2 separate regions of the Homo sapiens genome follow, and region 2 is linked to region 1. The links are contacts of gene promoters, found by promoter capture Hi-C in blood cells and fetal thymus (Javierre and others, 2016). All regions are on one chromosome and are shown on one strand. The core of a region is centred on a gene start or on the middle of the fragment in contact, and the rest is flanking DNA. Distances in the headings are between cores, read along the strand shown.

Region 1 (5,936 bases), core at 2,133-4,632:
GTGGGTGGGGGTGGGAAATTGGGTAAGAAAATAAAGTCGTTGTGGGCGGCTGGGGAACCTGGCGTCAGTCCCCCGTGGCTGTGCGCAGGTACCCTGCAACGTCGCGGTGGCCCCGCTCCTCGGCCAAGTCCACGGGCAGACGACCCCAGGCATCGCGCACGTCCAGCCGCGCCCCGGCCCGGTGCAGCACCACCAGCGTGTCCAGGAAGCCCTCCCGGGCAGCATCATGCACCGGTCGGGTGAGAGTGGCAGGGTCTGCGCAGTTGGGCTCCGCGCCGTGGAGCAGCAGCAGCTCCGCCACGCGGGCGCTGCCCATCATCATGACCTGCCAGAGAGAGCAGAGTGGTCAGAGCCAGGGTGGGGGCAGGTATGGGAGATGCCGGCCGGGGCAAGGCAGGTGGAGCCATTTAAAGAAACACCTAATTGCAAAGTTTTCACCCAGTGCAGAGGTGTTCAGGTCTCTGATGTCTGGTGTTTCTTCATTTGCTGATGCAATCCACTTTCCCACCCCACCTTCAGGTTATACTCAGTACAAATTAAATGCCATTTTATTCTCTAAACGTGCAGAGACAAGAAAGTTGATGGTAAAGTGATGATCATCATTATGGAAAAACAAATCTTGATTTCCATTGGAACATGGGAATCTATTTTGTTAAATGATTTAGGGGCAGAGTTAAATTTATTCGGCTTTTAAAGTTTTAAATTATTTGCCTTGCTGACCCCTCCTCCATAATCCAGGTCTACAAATATTTATTAGGTAGTCAACTACTGTTTGTTAGAAGTTGGGAGTAATGGTTTAGGGGAGAAAATAAACAACTAAGTTTTTTTCTTTCTTTTTTTTTTAATTTATTTAGTTCTCATAGCAAATCCCGTGCGGAAGGCTTTTGTTTGTCATGTGTCTGAGCTCATAACTGGCTTGTAGTGTGATAATTTGAGCCAAAGTTGGAGATTAGAAGGGAAAAGTAAATTAAATCATGCAAAATCTTATAAAATTATAATAAATGATTTTTCCTTAACAGTTCATCATTTTAAATTTAGACTATAATATTTTTAATGTAATATAAAACTAACTATATTTGTATACTACAGGATTTTATAATAGCTAAGATTTAAAAATGTTAAACAGTAAATATTTTGCTATATAAAAAGAGCTTGGGCCAGGCCCAGTGGCTTATGCCTGTAATCCCAGCACTTTGGGAGGCCATAGCAGGCAGATCACCTGAGGTCAGGAGTTCGAGACCAGCCTGGCCAACATGGTGAAATCCCGTCTCTACTACAAAAAATAAAAAATTAGCTGGGCATGGTGGGGCGTGCCTGTAGTCCCAGCAACTCAGGAGGCTGAGGCAGGAGAATCGCTTGCATCCTGGAAGAGGTTGCAGTGAGCTGAGATTGTGCCACTGCACTCCAGCCTGTCCGACAGAGTGAGGCCTCATCTCAAAAAAAATAAAATAAATAAATAAATAAATAGAGCTTGGATGTTAGCAGTCAATCAGGATGATGCATAACTTAGAAAAAATGATGTTTTGCAGGAGTAATCCTGTAGCAGCCATTTGTGTACATGAACATTATGAAAACATTTGCTGTCATATTTAAAGTCAATTATAAGACAATTTTTGGTAACTAAATGTCTAAAATCGAGTTATTTGTTATGGGTTTATGCACTTTAAAATATACCATTTAATTGAAAGGCAGTATACTTCTCATGTTTTGTTGGCTTGTTTCATTAATATTAGAAATGTTCATTTCATCTCTTAAAAACCGTGATAAGTTATATCTACTAGTGATGTAAGGATATTTTACATAGAAAAAAAGGGGAAAATAGCTGCTGTTAGTATTTCAGAAAATGGTGAATTACATATATAACTTGTTTTTATAATTATTAATAAAATTTTAAGTTTTTAAGATGCACTTTACAATATTTTTGCTCCTTTAAAAATCCCTCATTTGTTATACCATTATTCTAAGAATTCAAAAGAAATGAACACTTCTTTAAAATCTATACTATTAACAAGATCCCTTAATATTAGCTTAGTTTTAGAGGGTGATAGTGAGGTGAGTACTGAATATGACCACTAGCCAACGGTAAAGTACAAAAGAGTTGTCCGAGATTGTAAAAGAAATAAAAAATATCAGTACTAATTAAAGCAGGATTCGTACTTAAACATTGAATAAGTGTATTTTAACAATGAAGATAAAGATGCATTATTTATGAAGATCCTTTGCCATTCAAAAAGGACCTAACAGTTGCTGCAGGAATATTTTTGTAATCTGGGCACTGAGTATGATAATTAAAGAATGAGAAACCTATAGAACTATATATTTTTTCTCTTATGCATCACTCATAAGACACTGCTAACATAAAAGGAACTAAGTACTGTGGTTGAGGAATCCCGTCTCATTCTCAATTAACCTCTATGAGAAAACAATACAACAGATTTCATATAGTAGCTTAGAAGTTTACATTGATTTTTTCCATGTACTATGATTTTGTAGAATTCCTTAAATCCAATCTAGAATGCGTAACTTATACTTTACTTATCTTTATCGTTGAAAGCAGACAGACAAGATAATCTTCTTCCCTAAATAAGCTTTCCTTTTCTCCTTTTCTCCCCAATTCAGTCTATTCCTTGCATCTCTGATCATGAGATGGCAGAACAAAAACCACTAAAAAAAGCTTAAACAGTGGGTTTTTCAATGTCTCTCTTTAGGATTTTTGCTGGGTAAAAGCCTGTTTTACGCGTGGAATGCACACCTCCGGCCAACGGAGACTCCTGTACAAATCTACATCGGCGATCTAGGTTCCAGCCCCGATCCGCCGAGGCCGCGCCCCGCGTTCGCGCGCCCCCTGCCGGCGAGGCCCTGGGGCCCCAGCTACCTGGATCGCGCGCCTCCCGAAACGGTTGACTCCGTTGGGATCCGCGCCGGCTTCCAGGAGCTGTCGCACCTTCTCCACTAGTCCCCGCGCCGCGGCGCTGGCCAGACCCTCATCGCTGCCGCCCCCACTGGGCATGCCCTTGTTCTCCTCGCGCATTCCGCAGCCCCCAGACGCGCAGCGGCCCGGATAATCCACCGTTGGCCGTAAACTTAACGACACTCTTCCCTTCTTTCCCACGCTGCTCCGGCGCACTCTCTCCTTCCTAGGAGACCTGGGCTCAGCTTCATTACCCTCCCGTCGTCCTTCTGCGGCTTGGGGCCCCGTGCAGTGGCCGAGCGGCCGGTCGTTAGCTCCGGGCTTTTCCTGGCGCTCAAGAACCAGCGGGCGCGCCTGGATTGCTTCTGGGAAAAAGCGCCTAGCGCGGACGCAGCCGAGCTCAAAGCCGCTCTGGCCGCAGGGTGCGGACGCGTCGCGGAGTCCTCACTGCCCCGCCTCGCTCTGGCAGAGTGGGGAGCCAGCCGGCAAAGAATTCCGTTTTCAGCTGGGCCAAGGGGCCGGCGTCTCCCCACCCCCTTAGGCTCCGCCCCCTGTCCGCTGTGATCGCCGGGAGGCCAGGCCCGGGCCGACGCGTCACGAGGGCGGGGAAGCCTGCCCAAAGATGCTAGGACGCATGCGCCAGAGACTGGGCCAGGGAGCCGCCAGGAATGCTGGCTGCACTGCTCGCTGGATGTCCAGTAAAGCCAAGGCTAATATTTTGGGAATGTTCACCACTGCCCTCAGCTCCTAATCCCCAGTAGGCGGAGCAGAGGATTTCTGTTCCTTCAGCCAGCCAGTTGGTTTCACTGTGGAGACGTTGGTGGCTCCCTTGTGACCGAGAGAAAGTCATTCAAAATAACTCCGTGTTTCTTAAGATGTCTGAAAGCGACAGCTCTGCACCTGTCATACAAGTTAAATTCATCCCCAGGCAGTACTTGGGCTTCACAAGTTTCATAACTTGTATCAAACTTAGCAATTTTCTCTTGGATGTGTCTTTCTGTTTGAATTAGTCAACCATAAAAATAGAGAAAAATCCCGAGAATCATGTTTTGCGTGTGCTTTTTAATTCTTTCCATTTTTGCATTATGGATACAACCCTTAAAAGAGAAAAAAACTAGTTCGAGATTGAGAGTGGCAACCTGGCACACATAAGACAAAAAAAAATTATACTTTAAGAATCTGAGATCCCAGTTTCATCATATTTGTACAGTAAATCTTTGTTTGCACTCTTACCTATTTAAACCCACTTTGTCAGGTATCTTATTTTTATTTATCATGAGTAATAAAGGAAATTTATGCAGTAATAATGAAACATCATAAGAGAGGGGTGTGGTGCTGGGCTTGTCATTAAACAGGCTGAACCTGTCATTAAATTCTCTTCTGAAGATTTAAATGCCAAGTGCTTTTTTTCCCCTTCCTAATCTTCCTAGGTGAGTTTGAATCAACATTTATTACTTAAAATATTTAAAACATTTCAGCGGATGCTACATTGGATAGGAAGAGAACCGCAAGTTATGGATTTGTTGCCTAAAAACTTTGGTGAGGAACTGCATAAGTGGACCTCTCCTAAAAGTGAACAATTTTTGTTTACAGAATCATTTTGGTTCGGAGTGCTGAGGAAGACAAAGTCTTAACAGGAGGGCAATTGCTTGTGTATTGCAAAATGAGAGTCTTCACATGTTTTTTTTAGGATACCTTAGCTCTGACTCCTCATCCCCCAAATCCCTGTAGAATTAAAAAAAGCTCTTTCTTTTAAAGGCAGTGGAAGTGCCACCACCATGGAAGTGCTGGTTAGGGCTGAAAATCTACTGACAGAGCCTCAACAGAGCTGAAATCCACCTGGACAGGGAAGGGAACCGGGTAGCATTAATAACAATTTCTTTTTCTTTCCCATCCAACCCCCATTTCCTAGTCTTCAGTTTCTTAATTTCTCTACCTTTTACTCTTATGCTCTTGTTTTGACCTTTGAGTTTCTCTGAAACTTATCAGAAAAGTTAGGACAAGATAGTCTGACCCAATTCTTGAGCCATTTTCTTAGGTAGTAAATATGTCAGAAAAATGAAAGCTGTTTGGAGTTGATAAGGAAATGGAAGATAATGTTTTTCTTTGAGGGGGACATAAAGAATGGTGATAGGGAAAGAACCAATGACTAAGTAAAATGACTGAGAATCTTGCACGAGGCAGATGTGTGAGCTTCGCGAAGCAAGTTGACTGAATGAAAAACAACTTTGGGTAGGGAAAACGTTGCCGGGGGCATTCGCGCTTACTAGCACCACGGACAGCGCTTTGCTTATACTCAGGCCTGGGTGGTCCTAACCAGCTCCAGACAGAATTCTAAAGCTTCACACTTGATCTTCCAAAGCCCCTTTTCTCCCGTCAAATAGAAAGGACATTATGGAAGCTCAATGAATTTCTTTGAAAAACCAACCTGCTCAACCTGGTTTTCAAATATGATTGGATTTTATCTAATATTCTCTGTATAAAGAATATTATATAGTCTATATTTAGAAGACGAGAAGAGAAATCAAACTTATTGTGTACTCTGTACGAAGTGCTTTACAGCTGTTGTTTCATTTAATACTCATAAAACTCCTCTGTGGCATGTGTCCATATTTCAATTTTACAGACAAGCCAAAAGGATCAGAGAATTTGAGTGACTTGTATACTAGCTAATCATTGTTGGAGGTGGGTATAACTTTTGCGACTTCAGAGTCTTTTTACCCTTTATACTACATAGTGTTTTTTTTAGCAGCTGTCATGGTAGGCTTAACTGGAAAAAAGTAATAAACTGGCTTATAATTATTTTTCAGTCTACACTGTGTTTTCCAGATGGCTCACCTCACAGCACACCCTTACCAGACTTCAAAGATGACATTTCACATGTAATACAATAGCACATTTGTCTTGGACAATAGAGTGAGATTATGAAACATTTTACCTCTCCTTGAAACCCAGCTGTCTCTAGGGTGAAACACAATCTGTTGTTAATGCTTTAAACACATTTAAAAGATGAAGTGGATGGGAA
Region 2 (5,936 bases), core at 2,299-4,798, 100 kb after region 1:
AAGAGATCATTCAAAAGTATTACCCAAATAGTGATTTATCAGGCTTTATTGTGGGGAACCTAAAGTGGATTGCAACTGCTATGGTCCCTTTGAAGGGAGCTGGTGCAAGATTTTCCATGCCTAATCACACTCATTTTCCCTTGCTCTCCCAATGACCTCCCATCTTTCCTTCTATTTGGTCTGATAAACACCAACAATAGGATCCTTTCTGCAGCTTCCATCCTAACTTGTATTCTAGCCTTAACACTGCAACAAACTCACTGTTACCTAGAAGTCAATTGACTTCCCTGAATGTTAGCTTCTTTAGCTGTAAATAAGTAATTGTATGAGGTGATGGTTAAGGTGATTTACTAATTTTACAATTCTATTATTTTATGAATAGACCCTAGTTAGGATAGTTTGAAATAGATACTTAATCCACTATTATTCTCTCTTCTAAGATATAGTTACTAGTTGATCATACTTTTCCTTAAAGGCTGAACTGAATTCTCTGATATCAGCAACTAAACATCTCATATTTGTCAGTATGAACATCCACTGGGTGCCTGTTATTTAACCAGGTAGAATTCTTAGCTGTGATTGAAAATCTAGGTATCTCTTCTGGTACTATCACTTGGATGAGTAAAGTTTGAAAACCATTAAGTTGACATTTCTAATAGGACTGTGGATTTAACATAGATTCCCAGAAGTCTTGGAATACAACAGTGTACACAGATGAAGATACAGTACTTTTTGGTATTTTCTTTTTGCAAGTGTTACAAATATCTGCATGTCATAACATCATCACTATGGATCCCATCTTTTAATGAGAGCTTAGTATATGCTACACACTGTCACTAAACATGTAGGATCTTGTTTAGTTTTCTCAAAATGTTGTAGTTACTATGATTATTTTTTGTGTCTTGCAATCATTGTGTATAAGTGCGTAAACCATGTATCTAGAGTTTATAGAAGAATTAAAATTCAAAAACCCTATACTCATCTCTCATTTTTAAAAAATACCATTTTACCTGTCTTTAGATGCCCTGTATTTCCTCCCCAATCTCATCCCGCTCCTACTCTTGAAAGTGATCACTATCCAAATTTTGTGCCAAACATTAACTTGTTTTCTTTAGCTTTGCCATCTATGTATGTATCCCTAGGTAATACATGGCTTAGTTACACTTGTTTTTAAATTTGATGTAAATGTAATCCTATAGTATGAATTTTCTAAGACTTGATTAATCTATGAACATTTTATTTTGAGATTCATCAATATTGATGTGTGTAGCTATAGTTTATTCATTGCTGTTGCTGAAAAATATTCTATTGGATGACTTTGCTACAATTTATTCTACCATTGTTGGATATTTGAGTTGTTCCCATTTTATTTATTTATTTTATTTTTTTGCTGTTATGAACAATGTGGCTTTGAACATTCTTATACTACCTGGCGTGTATATGTATGTATCTGTCTGTCTGTTCATCTTAAGATGCACTACAAAACTGAGGCCTAGAGTCACCAAGCAACTTGTTTAATGTCAGAGTGAGTTGGTGGTGAGGCCAAAGTCTGAATTCAGCAGTCTGTTACCATAGTTTTCATCCTTAACCACAATACTCTATGAATCCTTATTTTAAAAAGGAAGGTCTGGAGAATTTAAAATAACTTCCTAAAGAGCAGGGATTCAACAAAGCTCAGTCTGACTAATGCCTTCCATTTTTAAAAAATCACCCAAAGCACATATTATGATTCTATTTGTGAAGTATTAGCTAATTACAAGAGAATGAGTTCATACTTGGCACTACTATCTCTTTCTTACAAGTGATCAGATGTCAAAATGTGAAAACTATACATTTCACATTATCCATATATATGTGACATTTTTCCTTTAGGAATATGAGTAGAAATAGAAAGACAGGTTTTTACAGTGAAATAGATTTTTTTTCTCTCTCTTTAGCCTACCAAATCTCTTTCGCAATACCTAACACTTATAAATGCATTTAATTTCAGTGCCAATTAAAGAAATTCGAAAGTAGATAATAAGTGAGACAAGCACCCAGTAAATGTTTATGATGTGACACTGACAAATTATGGGCTGCTATAATCAAGATAGCATTAAAAATTTTAAAGTGTTTGTATGAACAAACCATTTTGGAAGGAGTGTTTGGTGTGGCAGTGAGCAAAACAACCCAGTAACTATGGCAGTTAGTGTTAAAGCTCTGATTTTGACATGAAAGGAATAAAAATGGAAGTCCAGCTAAATCACAAGTGTCCTGGAGAAACTTGGATGAGTTTCTTGGCTAGAGGTTTTTCCCACCACAGTAAGTATTTTCAAAGGAAAACAAAGTAAAATTTTTCTCTTGTATGAGTCACATCTCTGTTGGTTGTAAGTGGCTGAAACTCATCTTGAACTACCAAGGTAAGAGAAGAAACATACTGGTTAATGGAATTCCAGAAAGGACTGAACAATCAAACCATTTTGAAGGACAGCATAGAGCTGGACTCTAGAACAGCCAAAACAAGGGGTTAAACCACTGCGAGGGATCTCTCTCCAACTCTTGCTCAGGCTTTTCTCCCTGGCTTGACTTTCTTCTCTTTCACTGTAGATTGGCTTCTCTCACATGGCAAGAAACATTGCTGCTAGCACTTCCCGAGTTCTACGTTCTACAACATCCACCACTGGTGAGAGATTAACTTATGGTTTTTCTGTTGAAAAGTCAAAAATTACCTGGGAAAAGTCTGATTGTCTCAGATTGGAGATGTTGCCCATCTCTGGACCAATACACTATTATGTGTGGCTGACTATATAAAAACATGGATATTTTCTTGGAATCACTTGGTTTGACTGGGAGAAGACCATTCTCAAAACAAAGGAAGTGCAATTTATAGAAGGTAGTAGAATAGGCAGATAAAACAATAATTCTTCACTATATTGCTCAAATAATCCCCATGACATTTTTAGTATATTATAAAGAGAGTTCTAAAGTGTTTCCAAACTATTATAGCAAAATTTAATCTTATAATAATTTCTTCTTGAACTATGTATAATTTACCTGAAATATTTTCCAAAAAGCAATCAATGTGAGAAAATGAGAGCCCTGTCTTCTTAAAAAAATGAGTAAAAGTCCACAAGTTCAGAACAAAAGAAAATGAGGTAAGGCCTAAAATAAATTGTGCTAAGAAAGCTAAAATTCTAGACAAAGTCACATCGGCAAAACTAGAAGGTTGGTACTGTGCTTCAGTTTACTGCTTGCTGTTTGGTTAAGAGGAGGGGTGATGTGATAAAAATAGTGACGAAGTGAGAAAACTGACGTATTAGTTTTCTATTGCATTATAACAAGTCACCACAAACTTAGAGGTTTGAAATAACGCCCATGTATTATCTCGCAGTTCCTGTGTGTCAGACCTCCAGGCACTGCGTGGCTCGGCTGGGTTCTCTGCTTAGAATCTCACAGGTCAAAATCAAAGTATCAATGGGAGCTGCAGTTCTCCCAAGCTGGAGCCTGTGTCCCTTTTAAACTCTCAGGCTGCTGGCATAATTTATTTCCTTATCAAGCCATCCATATGATCCCCTCCATCTTCAGGCCAGCAATGGCCTGTCAAATCCTTCTCATTCTTTGAAAATCTCTGACTTCCCTTTCTGTCACAGCTCTGTAACTTCTTTTCTCTTCTGCCACCAGCAGAAGAGGCTTTTAAGAGTTTATGGGATTAGATTACATCCGTCTGGATAATCTTTTACTTAAAGGTCAACTATGCTATATAACATAGCCAATCACATTCGCACATTGCAGAGACTAGGGTATAAAATCTTCGGGGTCATTCCTAGAAATTCTGCCTGCTGCAGCCTGGTTTCTTGCTTGGACTCTAGTATATATTTGCTAAATCTCCCAAGCCTCAGTCTCACTATTTGCAAAAGTGAGTTTTAATGCTCTTTGCCCTGCTTGCCTCACAGGATCTTAACATAGACGTAAGATCAAATGCAATAGCATGTCAAACAATGTGTAACTCCAGTTATACAAACATTACTGTATCTCATTGGGGATACGAAGCTCTACACACTTGAAGATGGTGAAGGAATATAAAAATGTAAGTATTGCTTTTATAATAAATGTGTTCCTATTGGCTGAAAATTTCAATATCTGATACAAATAGTCAACTTTCTATTTTACTTTTTCTAATTATGCAAGACCTTGTAATCACAAATGTAAAAATTGCAAGCCACATGCCCCTAAGGCCAAATAAAAATTTGTAAAATTCTCTTAAAAAGACTCTATAGAGTCCAAATGAAAATACGTCGAGTCCTTTTAAAAGGATCCAACCACATATATCAACTGATATACATGGTACCAAAAACAATGGAATCTTTTCAGATTCTCTAATTGGCCTTTGGAACTTATGTAGCATCAGGTATGCAAATGAACAACTTCAGACCTTGATTACTCCAACCTCCTCTCCCACTGTCACAGCCACTTCTGTCATGACCTAGTTGTTCTCAGAAAGTTCCCTCTTATACCTGGTCAAACTTCTCTTACAATCACCTGTGACTTTCCCTCTTGGTCTTGGATCAAATCATCCTAAATACATTAAAAGTCCTGATTCTTCCTGTCCCTTAAATATATCTCTACTTGAATCACTGTGTTAGTTCAGGTCCTCTGAGAGAAAGATGTTAAGATGAAATTAGATGTGCAAGAGATTCGCCGAGGTAAACCTTGTGGGAGAAAATGGAGAGGTACATAGAGGAGCCTGGGCAGACTGTGTGGCTACTATGTAAGACTCATCCCCATGAAGGAGAAAGGAGAGGAAGGCAAAGAAGAAAAACCTTAAGATTTCAATTCTAAGAACGTTTTGACAAAGCTGATTAGGAGTATTTAAGGCAAAGCTGCCCACCAGAAGAGTACTGCATCTTTCAGGAACGGACTTGCTTTAGTACATCTGCTGTGCTTAGTAATTGGCTGGGAGCAGCCATAGAAAGCATGGACTCAGTACAAACTTGGTGATGAATTTCAGAGGCAGCGGCTAAGACCATCAGTCTATTATTTTCCTTGCAATAGCTGTCATAATTACTATCAGAGCAAACAATTTTTTGTGTGTGAATTCATGAGATAATGGTCTTTTCTTTCCTGCTTTCAAGAGCCATGTCATTGAAAGAGCTAATCATTCAAATTTATGCTGCATTACTGACTAAATACTTTCATTTATCATACTTTATTTTAAAATACTTTAACTCATGGCCCGATGATTTTCAGTTAACCAAATTCTCCCTTACTATCCTGGTTGCCCCTTCTGTCTTTTCCTTAGAAATGTTATTGTAGTATTTGCAAGATGGCCTGAATCCTGAACCCCCCATCTTCAATGAGCACCAAATGGTAATTATAGATTCCCAGCTGTAGAGCTATGTCAGACAAAGGAAACTTCATTAGTATGTACCAATGTTTGGACTCCAAATGCTTTTGTGTCTGAGTCACAAGGACTCCTCTTCCTTGGTGGCTTAAAGTTAGGCTGAAGAAGATTTACATTATGTTGTGCATGACCTCTTTAGTTTGGTTCTACTTATACTTTCAAGGAGGGAAGACTGGGGAAGGTGTCCCTTAGTGAGCATATTTTGTACAAATGAAAACAGGGTACTAACACTTATGCCAGGACGCATGCATAAACTAGGATGGTTCTGAGAAAACTGCGATATATGATCACTCCAGGGTCTCCCCTCTCAGAAGCGAGGGAGACTTAAACCTTTTACATCACCAAGTACATGGAAAGAAAGACAGCAGGGAAGTGATTCCGAAGAGAAACCTGAAAAAAGCAATGTGGAAAGATAGACACTTTAGCCTTTTCTTTCTTCTCAAAACTTCACATTCCTTTTCACTCTGCTTCACTTAAGCTGCCCTAGTTCCAGAGTGTTTCCTCTCTTGGGTGAAGATGGGAACAAGTACATGGGGTAGCAAGGGGTGGGTGGGAC

Evidence for each region. Contacts are between HindIII fragments. The CHiCAGO score rates a contact against its expected background, and 5 or more counts as called.
Region 2: a fragment that was not itself captured here is called in contact with the fragment with the promoter of CDKN2B in region 1 in 4 of 17 cell types (M2 macrophages, endothelial precursors, M1 macrophages and 1 more); the score reaches 9.2 in M2 macrophages.

Annotation. Positions count from the first base shown.
Region 1 is chr9:22,005,923-22,011,858 of GRCh38, forward strand. CDKN2B (cyclin dependent kinase inhibitor 2B) reads right to left here and starts at 3,383. Exons shown (of 2, transcript NM_004936.4): 1 at 2,876-3,383; 2 at 1-325. The coding sequence starts at 3,031. The coding sequence ends at 65. All of the region lies in intron 1 of CDKN2B-AS1 (CDKN2B and CDKN2A antisense cis and trans regulatory RNA 1), which reads left to right. RefSeq lists silencers at 2,725-2,924, 5,048-5,342. The HindIII fragment of the contact is 2,577 bases long and covers 2,673-5,249 here.
Region 2 is chr9:22,109,734-22,115,669 of GRCh38, forward strand. It overlaps CDKN2B-AS1 (CDKN2B and CDKN2A antisense cis and trans regulatory RNA 1), which reads left to right. Exons shown (of 19, transcript NR_003529.4): 15 at 2,587-2,662; 16 at 3,933-4,066. Among named protein-coding and RNA genes, the nearest start is that of CDKN2B, 100 kb to the left of the region's middle. The HindIII fragment of the contact is 8,003 bases long and covers 1-5,936 here.